3 separate regions of the Homo sapiens genome follow, and regions 1 and 2 are each linked to region 3. Evidence: promoter capture Hi-C in human tissues and cell types (Jung and others, 2019). All regions are on one chromosome and are shown on one strand. Each heading gives the region's core, a stretch centred on a gene start or on the middle of the fragment in contact. The rest is flanking DNA. Distances are from core to core; before and after follow the strand shown. Region 1 holds the start of ABCA6 (ATP binding cassette subfamily A member 6). Region 2 holds the start of ABCA9 (ATP binding cassette subfamily A member 9). Region 3 overlaps ABCA6 (ATP binding cassette subfamily A member 6).

The links. The method cuts DNA at HindIII sites, captures the fragments that hold promoters and counts their contacts. A contact is called where the count stands out against the background at its distance.
Region 1: a contact is called between the fragment with the promoter of ABCA6 here and a fragment that was not itself captured in region 3, in 1 of the 25 tissues and cell types used here (H1 embryonic stem cells).
Region 2: a contact is called between the fragment with the promoter of ABCA9 here and a fragment that was not itself captured in region 3, in 2 of the 25 tissues and cell types used here (aorta and pancreas).

Annotation. Positions count from the first base shown.
Region 1 is chr17:69,139,657-69,143,286 of GRCh38, reverse strand. It overlaps ABCA6 (ATP binding cassette subfamily A member 6), which reads left to right and starts at 1,392. Exons shown (of 39, transcript NM_080284.3): 1 at 1,392-1,542; 2 at 2,539-2,679. The coding sequence starts at 2,584. RefSeq lists a silencer at 1,205-1,499. The HindIII fragment of the contact is 16,221 bases long and covers 1-3,630 here.
Region 2 is chr17:69,059,626-69,062,941 of GRCh38, reverse strand. It overlaps ABCA9 (ATP binding cassette subfamily A member 9), which reads left to right and starts at 2,015. Exons shown (of 39, transcript NM_080283.4): 1 at 2,015-2,076. It overlaps LOC124904051 (a long non-coding RNA gene), which reads right to left. Exons shown (of 2, transcript XR_007065889.1): 2 at 2,850-3,254. The HindIII fragment of the contact is 8,506 bases long and covers 1-3,316 here.
Region 3 is chr17:69,093,660-69,097,203 of GRCh38, reverse strand. It overlaps ABCA6 (ATP binding cassette subfamily A member 6), which reads left to right. Exons shown (of 39, transcript NM_080284.3): 24 at 403-576; 25 at 851-964. It also overlaps the pseudogene SEC24AP1. Among named protein-coding and RNA genes, the nearest start is that of MIR4524B, 4.1 kb to the left of the region's middle. The HindIII fragment of the contact is 8,648 bases long and covers 1-3,544 here.

The DNA of each region.
Region 1 (3,630 bases), core at 143-2,642, 47 kb before region 3:
GTCAAGAAAAAGGAAAAGAAAGCATACACAAGAAACAATGGTAAGAAATGAAACTAATAAATATATTTAATCTAAATAATTATCATTGATATTGTAGCTGTGAATTTTAATACAATTATAAGAATGGCAGAATGAAAATGATTCCTAAAATAAAGTATAAAGGGTCTAAAACAATGATAACAACAAAAAAATTCATAAAAGCCTTAACTGTATTCCAGGTGGTTTAAAAGTAACTTTGAGTTTTGTTATATTACTATTACAAAATGTTAAGTGTTTATGACCTCCCTTCCCACACCCCATGAGAACTTTAGAACACCTTTATTAACGGTGTTTGTGCCAATTTTCAATGTAAAAAAAGTGGCATTTCACTGTTGACTATTTTTAAAAACAGAAGTAATTGCCAAGGAGAGAAATTTTATATATATATATATACACACACACACACACACACACACATTATATATATACACATATGTATACATTATATATATATACATTTTATATATATACACACAGGCACACACATATACACATAATAGTATCATGGCTGTAGTTGTCATTGTTGTTTAAATTATCTGCTTTGCTCCAGAAAGTTTCTCAGCTTTATGATTATTAACATCTGTGGATTGGGAGCCGTGTCAAATATTTGAGATTTCCCAATTCATGGACTTTGATTTCCTGTTTTGCCATTCACTGTGGCAGGTCAAGAAAAGTTTGCAACTCTTTACAGAGCAGAGAGAGACAGACTATGCTATATGAATTAAACATGTTTCAGTTTGTTGTAGTCTTCGTGCACAAAAATTTATCTGAATCTTTTTATATGTTTTGTAGACCTGGGCAAACCACTGGCTTATTTTGTTCATAAGTATTATGAAATCCTGTATCCACTGTGAAGAGGGTGGGAGCAACAAATTTGTTAAAAATTCTTCATTTGTCTGTCCTAGGAGTTTCTCCAAGGCGTACTATGGATTGCTTAGCTTTATTAGGAAAAAAAATCAGCTCCAGAATACTCTGCTAACTTAGTCTGAATTAGTTAAATATACAACTAACTGGCAGTTGTGTTTATTCATCAGTAGTGAAAAGAAAATAGATACAGATTTCTTATACAAATTTAACTGCTTTGTTTGGTTAGTTATTGTTTTTACTCTTTCTTGTTCCTGCCTCCATCTTGGTCTCATCATTTCTGAAGAACTAGTTCCATTTTCCTTGTTTACCGTTTTCCCCCTTATCCCTGTAGTTGAAAGGCTAAGTGAACAAACACAGAGTTTATTTTATTCCCAACCAACCACGGAACAGTCATTTCCTTGCAGAATAATTGGCTTAGGGAGAAAGAGACACAGAAAACAAAACAAGTTCATCATGTACAGCTTGGTCTGGCTACACCCCTTTTCAGAAACCAGGCTGTGTAAGAGCTGCTGGAGTAGGCACCCATTTAAAGAAAAAATGAAGAAGCAGCAATAAAGAAGTTGTAATCGTTACCTAGACAAACAGAGAACTGGTTTTGACAGTGTTTCTAGAGTGCTTTTTATTATTTTCCTGACAGTAAGTAAAGCTCTATTTTGTTGTGCTGTGCCAAATATGTGGGTGGACACTGCTAAAATCAATCTATTTTTCAGATGTTTCCCAATTCTTATGTGTTTTATGTTAAAGACCTAAGACTAAATTTTTCTGCTTTTTCCCAACCACTTTTTATTGTGTAGATTGTAACAGTAAGACATAGAAAAATGGAAAAAATTTGCTTCTGTGCTAGCTGAGGGAGAATTATCTGAATATTTTGATGTAAAAATATGAAAGAATTTCATTTTGAGGTTACAGAAACGAAAAAAATTGTGTTTCTTGATTTGCAAATCTTTGGGCAAAATTACTTTCCCGTGTGATTTATTTTTGCTTCTTTTAAAGCTAATTTTGTAGTTTCATTAGTTATTCAGGGACTTCTGAATTCAGAAAATTGAGAGAAATTGCTTTATTCTTCCTGTATCTCAGAATCAAGTTTCAAGTAGTTTGAGCCTGGATTATGATTTACAACCTATCTCTTTTCATAAAAGTTGATTCAATCTGAAGGTAAAATTACAAGAAAACACTTTATTGAGGTTGTATCTAGTGGATGTAATTTATTATTCAGACAAATTTAAGTAATCAGACTTTTGATGTTAATTTGATTAGCTCTGAGATTTCTGTTTCAATGTAAAGAACAAGAAATGGCTATTAACAGGATGAAATTAATTTAATCACTCTATTCATGTACTTAAAGTTCTCTCATACAAGGCCAAAAATGTGAAATTATAGGTTCTGAAGTTGAATTACAGCTTTTCCATTTCAGTACTCCAAGTTATTGCAAAATTGTGATAATAATCACTCTGCCTTCCCACCATCACCCACTCCCCTAAAAAGCTTAAGGTGAAATATTTGAGGTGAAATTTTACAGTCATAAATTATTGAAATAATATTTTAAATTCATGTTTACACTTTTTAAAGGTAGTAAATATTTTCCTCAACACTATGATCAAGGTTTTTCTTATTACACTTATTTTTTTCTAGGTTGTGTTCCACCATGATTACTTTCTCCTTCAGCGAATAGGCTAAATGAATATGAAACAGAAAAGCGTGTATCAGCAAACCAAAGCACTTCTGTGCAAGAATTTTCTTAAGAAATGGAGGATGAAAAGAGAGAGCTTATTGGTATGTTTAAAAATTTGTCTCTTTCCACGGTTAGCACTCTTACAGTGTTTCATTACCTACTGATTCTCTTATGTTCTCTTTTAATTAGTAGATGGGATTTATTGATTTTACCAGTTCTCTCTAGTTGTATTTGTTGAATTGAGAGACTGAAGAATAACATAAAATTATTAAAGACTAAAAGAATTCCTCATATAAAAAGAGATTAAGTGAACATTTAATTATATGGTAAATTACAGCAACTGCTAGAGCTACTACCAAATGTTATACACTTAGAGCCAAGAAGTACAAAAAAAATGTTGTCAGAAGAAATGGAGACATTTTAATTTTGTGGATTTATTTTCAAGGACATGAATTTTCTACACAAAAATTGTTTTTAAGAATTATGATCAACTAACACCACTGAAAGTCAGTTTGCATCAAGCAGGTGGGCTAATCACAGATGACTAGCCCAAATCTCAGTGGCTTAACACAGCAAATGTTTATTTTTTTATTTTTTATTTTTTTATTATTATTATACTTTAAGTTTTAGGGTACATGTGCACAATGTGCAGGTTAGTTACATACATATACATGTGCCATGCTGGTGTGCTGCACCCATTAACTCGCCATTTAGCATTAGGTATATCTCCTAATGCTATCCCTCCCCCCTCCCCCCATCCCACAACAGGCCCCAGAGTGTGATGTTCCCCTTCCTGTGTCCATGTGTTCTCATTGTTCAATTGCCATCTATGAGTGAGAACATGCGGTGTTTGGTTTTTTGTCCTTGCAATAGTTTACTGAGAATGATGATTTCCAATTTCATCCATGTCCCTACAAAGGACATGAACTCATCATTTTTTATGGCTGCATAGTATTCCATGGTGTATATGTGTCACATTTTCTTAATCCAGTCTATCATTGTCGGACATTTGGGTTGGTTCCAAGTGTTTGCTATTGTGAATAGTGCCGCAG
Region 2 (3,316 bases), core at 766-3,265, 34 kb after region 3:
ATGCTATATGTAGTTGCCAAAAAAAGTGTACATTATGGTATAAAATCAGTGTCATTTCATTTTTGAACTCCCATGGGATTGTTTTTGAATTGGTAAACTGATTCAAAAACTTCTTTATAAGAGTAAATACGTCGGGCGCAGTGGCTTCTGCCTGTAATCCCAGCACTTTGTGGGGCCAAGGTGGGTGCATCATTTGAGGTCAGGAGTTCCAGACCAGCTTGACCAAAATGGTGAAACCCCTTCTCTACTAAAAACACACAAAAATTAGCTGGCCGTGGTGGCAGGTGCCTGTAGTCCCAGCTACTGTGGAGGCTGAGGCAGGAGAATCGCTTGAACCTGGGAGGCAGAGGTTCCATTGAGCCGAGATTGTGCCACTGCACTCCAGCCTGGGTGACAGAGGGAAACTCCGTCTCAAAATAAATAAATAAATAAATAAATATTAAATATTGTTTAATCTAGAAAATATTAAAAAGAAGATCAATGAGAGGGAGCTTGCTCTGTTATAGTGCCACAGAGATTACAGTGTGGTACACTGAAGGAAACATTGAAAACAGAATTTAGAACCGAAAGTCAAAATCAACTAGGTCCAGAACTCATAAGCTCTAACCTAGGTACAAAGTTCTTCTAGGAAACAAGTTACTGAAAAAAAATTTCCTAAATTATATTCTCTGTGCACAAAATGTTGGCGATGTTATTAAATGTATTGAATGTGATAATTTTGTATTTTCTGCAGAAAATCAACCAACCTATAACCTTTTCTGTAGACATATGGAAACAATCAGAAGTCTTTTTTTTTTTTTTTAAGTTTGACAGTCTCATGGATTCAGGAGTTCAGCCTACTTCCACAGACTGCTTGCTGAGCAACTTCTGGATCGCATATAATTAGAAAAAGGATAAATATAATTGAATCAATATTGAGAGAATGGGAAATGGGTAAGGAAGATTTCATTTGGTTATCATGGTCCATGAGACACAGATAAGAGGCTGATTTAAGAATTGCATGCATTTATTGTTTCCCTTTCAGCTGTATGTTCAGGAAGAAATTACAGTACTGAAGAATTTAACAGACTTACTGGCTGTAAGCAGAATGATAGTGGTCCTTTCCCCCCTCTTCTTCAGCCAAAGATGAACTCCATGAATTATAAGAATTTTGGAACAGTCTTTTCTTCTACTTACATAAGATGCTCAAAAATAGACAGAATGGCATCTATTACCAGTTAAAAATGTTTCTCTAACAATACTGGAAAGCAGGACATACTAAAATTCAGTAGTTACTGGTGGAGAAAGTAGTTTGTTTCATGGGAACCGTTGCAGAGATGACAAGCCTGGAGGCTTTGAGAGCACAGGTAATTGTTATGTGAGATTTCTCTAAAGATTCTGCTCGCTTCAGTACCATGAAAGATGAAAGATGCTACAATTAGTATGCACACAATGAAACTGAGATGCAGATGGAAACTCAGAGTTTCTTTTGTTACCCTGAAGAAAATTACATTGCTTTATTGCCGTATTTCTGGATTCAAGTTTTAAGAATCTGTTGAAGGTTTTAAATAGTTTCTAACCCAATTTGTATGTATTTACTTGTCACTTAAAATATATATATATATAACATATATATTTATGTATTTTTCACTTTGTTCTGCTCTACTCTTCTCTGGATTGGCTTCTTACTTATCTTTGTTTAAATCATTGTGTTGGGGTCAACTCTCCCATTAGGGCCTTGTATGAAAAGACCGATTGAGAAAGGCTAGATTCTCCTTGGTTTGATAGTTCCTAATGTTTTGATATGTCCAGCCAACCATCTGCAACTACAAACTCCCTGCTGAGTAACTAGCAGGAAACAAAGAAATGGAAAACAGCAAAGAAATCACCACGTGAGCAGAAGATATTTTGGCAGGCTAGCTGAACTGAGACCAGATTCTCCTGGGAAATTTGTATAAAACAGAACTATTCACAATGAATGTGAAATTAAAAGCATGATGTAGTAGTGACCCAAAAGGAATGTGAATTCTCCTCCAGAACATGCAGAGACCCATGGATGAACTGTGTTTCTAGATTTTTCCTCCAGCTTTCCTGAGAGTAAGTTAACCTCTAAAATTGTGGTTATTTTGCATATAGAAATATAACATAAGACTATAAATAGGCATGCCAGACGTTTAGGTAGAAACCATTAAAAGCAGTAAGTTATTAACGAGTCATTTTGACTTTTTAAATCATCTATTTTATTTTGTATGTCTAAATAACCAAATGAAGAACTAAGAATTTAAATTTTTACCCCGTAACTAAAACATTTTTGGACAAATAGCATACATTATCTAATAGGCTATTGAATAAATCAAAAGAAATGTCACGTTATGTTGCTTCTTTACAAGTATGAACTATTTCCAAATTTATTTGAATTACTTACTCTTCTTTGTTTGTTTTTAATTTTACTGCCAGAGGAATTGTAAGCATTGCAGGATGCATAATTTTCTGAGTTTTGAATTGTTTTTAAATGGCTTGAGAATATTTTCATCAAGAAAACTTAAGGAAAGATTTTTATTGATCTTGTTTATTATAGTAACTATTTTAAAATTTTGATCTAATTTGTTGCCCAGTGCAACAAATTAGAAAAATTTGTTCTGTGAATAACAGGAATTTTATCTGACTGGGAAATGATTGGCTTTTTATAACCAATTTATTATTTCTAAATTATACAATTTCCTATTCAGAACAATTTAAGCTAATTAGATGTTTTATATTATTACGGTGGGTAGTATATTTTTTCTCTGATATTTACACTAAGATGTTCAGTGGGGGGAAAAATCAGTCTTAACGCTCAGAGATAAATAACCACATTCATGACAATGAGATTATGTAATTGTTTTTTATTCACAAATATTTTCTGGCACACACATTAATTCACAGAAAGAAAGAACAGTAGTCACGTGGGCACAATATTTAACCCTTTCAGATACTGAGGTTTATCACCGCTTGATTTCTTAGTTGGAAATGTTGCAGTTTGGTTTCAGGCAGGATTTCCAGGCTATCACAGCCTGCTCCGATGGCATGATTATTAGGAGCTCATCTGCATCACTGGTGAATTTCTTTGGTCACTTCTGGACAGTTTTTAAACATAAGTCCATGCCCTTCTTTGTTCTGCTGATGAGGCACGTCATAAAATAAATGTCCAGCAATGTCTTCCTGTCTTGTTCTCAGGCCTCAGGCTCTCGGACTCCTTCCCCCAACCCTGCCCCCATGTTAACTTTCTATTGCTGCTGTAAAAAAAAAAAAAATGACCACAAACTTAATGGTTTAGAACAAAACAGAGTTATCATCT
Region 3 (3,544 bases), core at 838-3,337:
AGCCAGGATGGCCTCAATCCCCTGACCTTGTGATCCACCCGCCTTGGCCTCCCAAAGTGCTGGGATTACAGGCGTGAGCCACCATGCTGGCCAATACTTATTTTTATAGAGTTTAATGCCTTGAACATTATGAGGTCCACTTTTCATTATTCATGAGCTAAAGTTGTGTTATGAGTCAGGCCTATCACAGTATACATTTTATTTTTGATAGACACCTTGTAAACCATGGAACTGGCTCTATAAGCCTCATGTTACTAAGCAGTATATGCATAATTTTTTTTAATATTAGAAGATTAGATTATATTTATCTTAAAAATTCTTCCAATGTGTTTGTGTTTATTTTAGATTTGCATTTTAATTGAATCTATATACATTTCTTTCTTTCTTTTTTTTTTTAATCAGAAAAATGCTAAGTCCCAGCTATGGATTTCAGGCCTCTACACTTCTGCTTACTGGTGTGGGCAGGCACTAGTGGACGTCAGCTTCTTCATTTTAATTCTCCTTTTAATGTATTTAATTTTCTACATAGAAAACATGCAGTACCTTCTTATTACAAGCCAAATTGTGTTTGCTTTGGTAAGTAACACAGTACATAAACCAAATTTCATAAAGTAATTAATAATAAATTTTAACATTGTTATTTTAAGTAGTTAAGATGTTTTAATTCATATTTTGTAATAAACCAAAACAAAAAACATGCAAAGTGCATGTATGATAAATACTAATAGTTTCAGATACCAAAGATGTTTTATACTTATGCCAGGTTACTTGTTTTTTAAAAGTTGTAATCTAATTTTTCCCTCAGTAATATTTGATTTTTTGACTATGTTATTATTTCTTTTATGCTCAGGTTATAGTTACTCCTGGTTATGCAGCTTCTCTTGTCTTCTTCATATATATGATATCATTTATTTTTCGCAAAAGGAGAAAAAACAGTGGCCTTTGGTCATTTTACTTCTTTTTTGTAAGTATATAATACATACAAATAGAGAAATAGTGTTATTTTTTAAACTTCTAATGTAATCTTAAATACAGATGTCTGCCTTAAGACAGTAGGGAAAATTAATACTTCAAAATTACACCATAGAAAAGAGAGGGAAGTGTAACACTGTTACTGAATCAATAATATTTCTAAAGAAATCAGGTGCTACCCATTGAACAGAATTTATGGAGAATCTTACAGAAGACCTGACGTCTGAAACGTCCTGTTGAGTTTATGTCTCCAGAATACAGGGCTTCCTGCCAACACTAGAAAATTGGCTTCCTAACAGTTGACATTACAACCCATCTCTACAGTCTTCAAGAAGGTCTCTCTTAACCTTAGCTGCTAATAGTTTCAGATACTAAAGATGTTTTATACTTATGCCAGGTTACTTGTTAGTATAAAAGTAAAGAGCTTGTCCAAAATCATGGAAAACTTTGCTGGAAATGTTTGCTGAAATTCTAGAGACACCAGAGTGCCCTGAGTCCTACACTTCAGGCCTCCTTTAACTGATATCCTCAACTGGTGATTGAATGTCTGTCTGGAAAACAGCTCTCAACTCTTGGAATGGGAATCTTGAATCCATGAGAAGAACCCAACCAAAGATCATCTATAAGAAATGATATATTTAATATTAGGTTGGTGCAAGAGCAATTGCGTTTTTTTTGCTATTTAAAGTAATGTCAAAACCGCAATTACTTTTGCACCAACCTATACGACCCACTGACTTCTACAAGAAATTAGTCTGGGACTCTTTTGGCCAGCAGGTAGCTGTTGTTCCTTCTCAGTGGACAGCACTTGGGTTTGACTTCTCTGGGCTATATTTCTTTGTATTCAGCAAACAGTGTCTATAACTATATCTCTTACCACCATCAGCACAATCCAGTGGAAGTACAGAGGCTACAGAAAGAACATTAGGCTCACCTTACTCGGAAAAACTGGCTTTGAGGCAGCCATGAGGATCTGGTGCACAAAAGGTCTTTCCATTTATCCTTTCCATGGAGACTATTTTTTGTTCAGTCAACAGACTTACTGCCATTGTCCAGTGTAATCTCAGGTGCTAGATCAGATGTCTGTAGAAGAGAGTCTTACTGACACTTGGTTGGTTTCTTTTCAGTCAGCACTCTTGTATCTGTCTAGCAAAGGTGAACAAAGAATTCACATTCATTCTTAGTGTTTGCCAGTAGTTTTAGCTCTGAACGAAGTCTACCTTGGAGGTGATAGCCAAGAAATGTCAGGGTTATTGTCCAGCGTGGTTGCGCATGGGTCTGCTCCTGCCAGCCTGAGTGATGCTGCAGATGCCCTAGTGAGTGCCCCTCATAGATGCTTTTTCAGCAGCTTGTCCTTCAGTCCTAAGTAAACAGCATGCTGGAATCAAGCTTCCTTTTGTGGCTTTTGCCACTCCTTGTGTTGACCCTTATTACACAGAAATCATTCCAAACTGGAACAAATGCACATCTAGATGGACACATTTTTTGCTATGTGCCTCATGAAATAGTTGCCCCTGGCTTACCGTATACTCACAACTTATCCCAGTTTGTATAGAGCTGGAAATTTCTCAGACAAGAGAGCATTCAGCATCAGTGATAGAAACATACCTCAGCCCTTGCCTTTTAGCTTTTAGTGGAGAAGCTGAGCAGGTTTAATTTCCTCATGGCTGCAGGCTCCATAGTGATGCTTTGGGTTGGAAAACATTATAGACAAGATTTTCTCAGCCAAGTTCCAGGATTTCAAATCTGTGCATCAATTCCATAGACTGTGACAGAACTTCTAGAACTTAATAGGCCAGAATCTTCCAAAACAATAAGTTTCATCTCTAGGCTTAGAGAGCAGAAACCATTTTCCCATTGTGGAGTAAGGAGTGAGAGTCCAGTGAGAGGAACTTTCCTTCAAAAAATGGCAGAAGACAGAATCTGCATTATCATATTATGAATGCCCCTTGTATATACGGCAGCAAGTGAATAGATGAACAAAAGAAGAAATTTGACTTTGTTCTTTCTAAGGAAAGATGATAATGCAGAACCACTTCTTAGGCTTGTGAACTAACATGGTGATTAAGGTGTTCTCACTGTGATTTGAAAAAATTATCACAAATAAAAGATCACAGCAGAAAATCAGACATGACACTGAGAAACACTGTATTTTTAAAATCAAAACACATACACGTATGATTGCATGCCTTTTATCCTTTGCTGCCATTTATGCTTAAGTTGTTATGGATTCAAATAAGGCAAGACAATATTCCAGAGGCAAGGTACGTTTTGGAAAACAAAGACTGTTCAAAATATAAAAACAAAATTACACCGCAGTGTAATAGTAAAATATGTATTTATATATTTGTAATTTCTGATTGTTTTTCCTTTGCCCTTCTTATGCTTATCTATTTCAGTATATTTATTTATTTCATTTTTCTATCACTGAAAGGAATCTACATATTTCTAGAATGGTGGAATGTCAGACTTGAAAGAAATTCAAAATTGTCTAGTATGATTTACCAAATTTTATAGTGTTGCAGGAAATTAAGGAACTAGAGAGACCGATCGGGATACAGGAGAGCTTTTA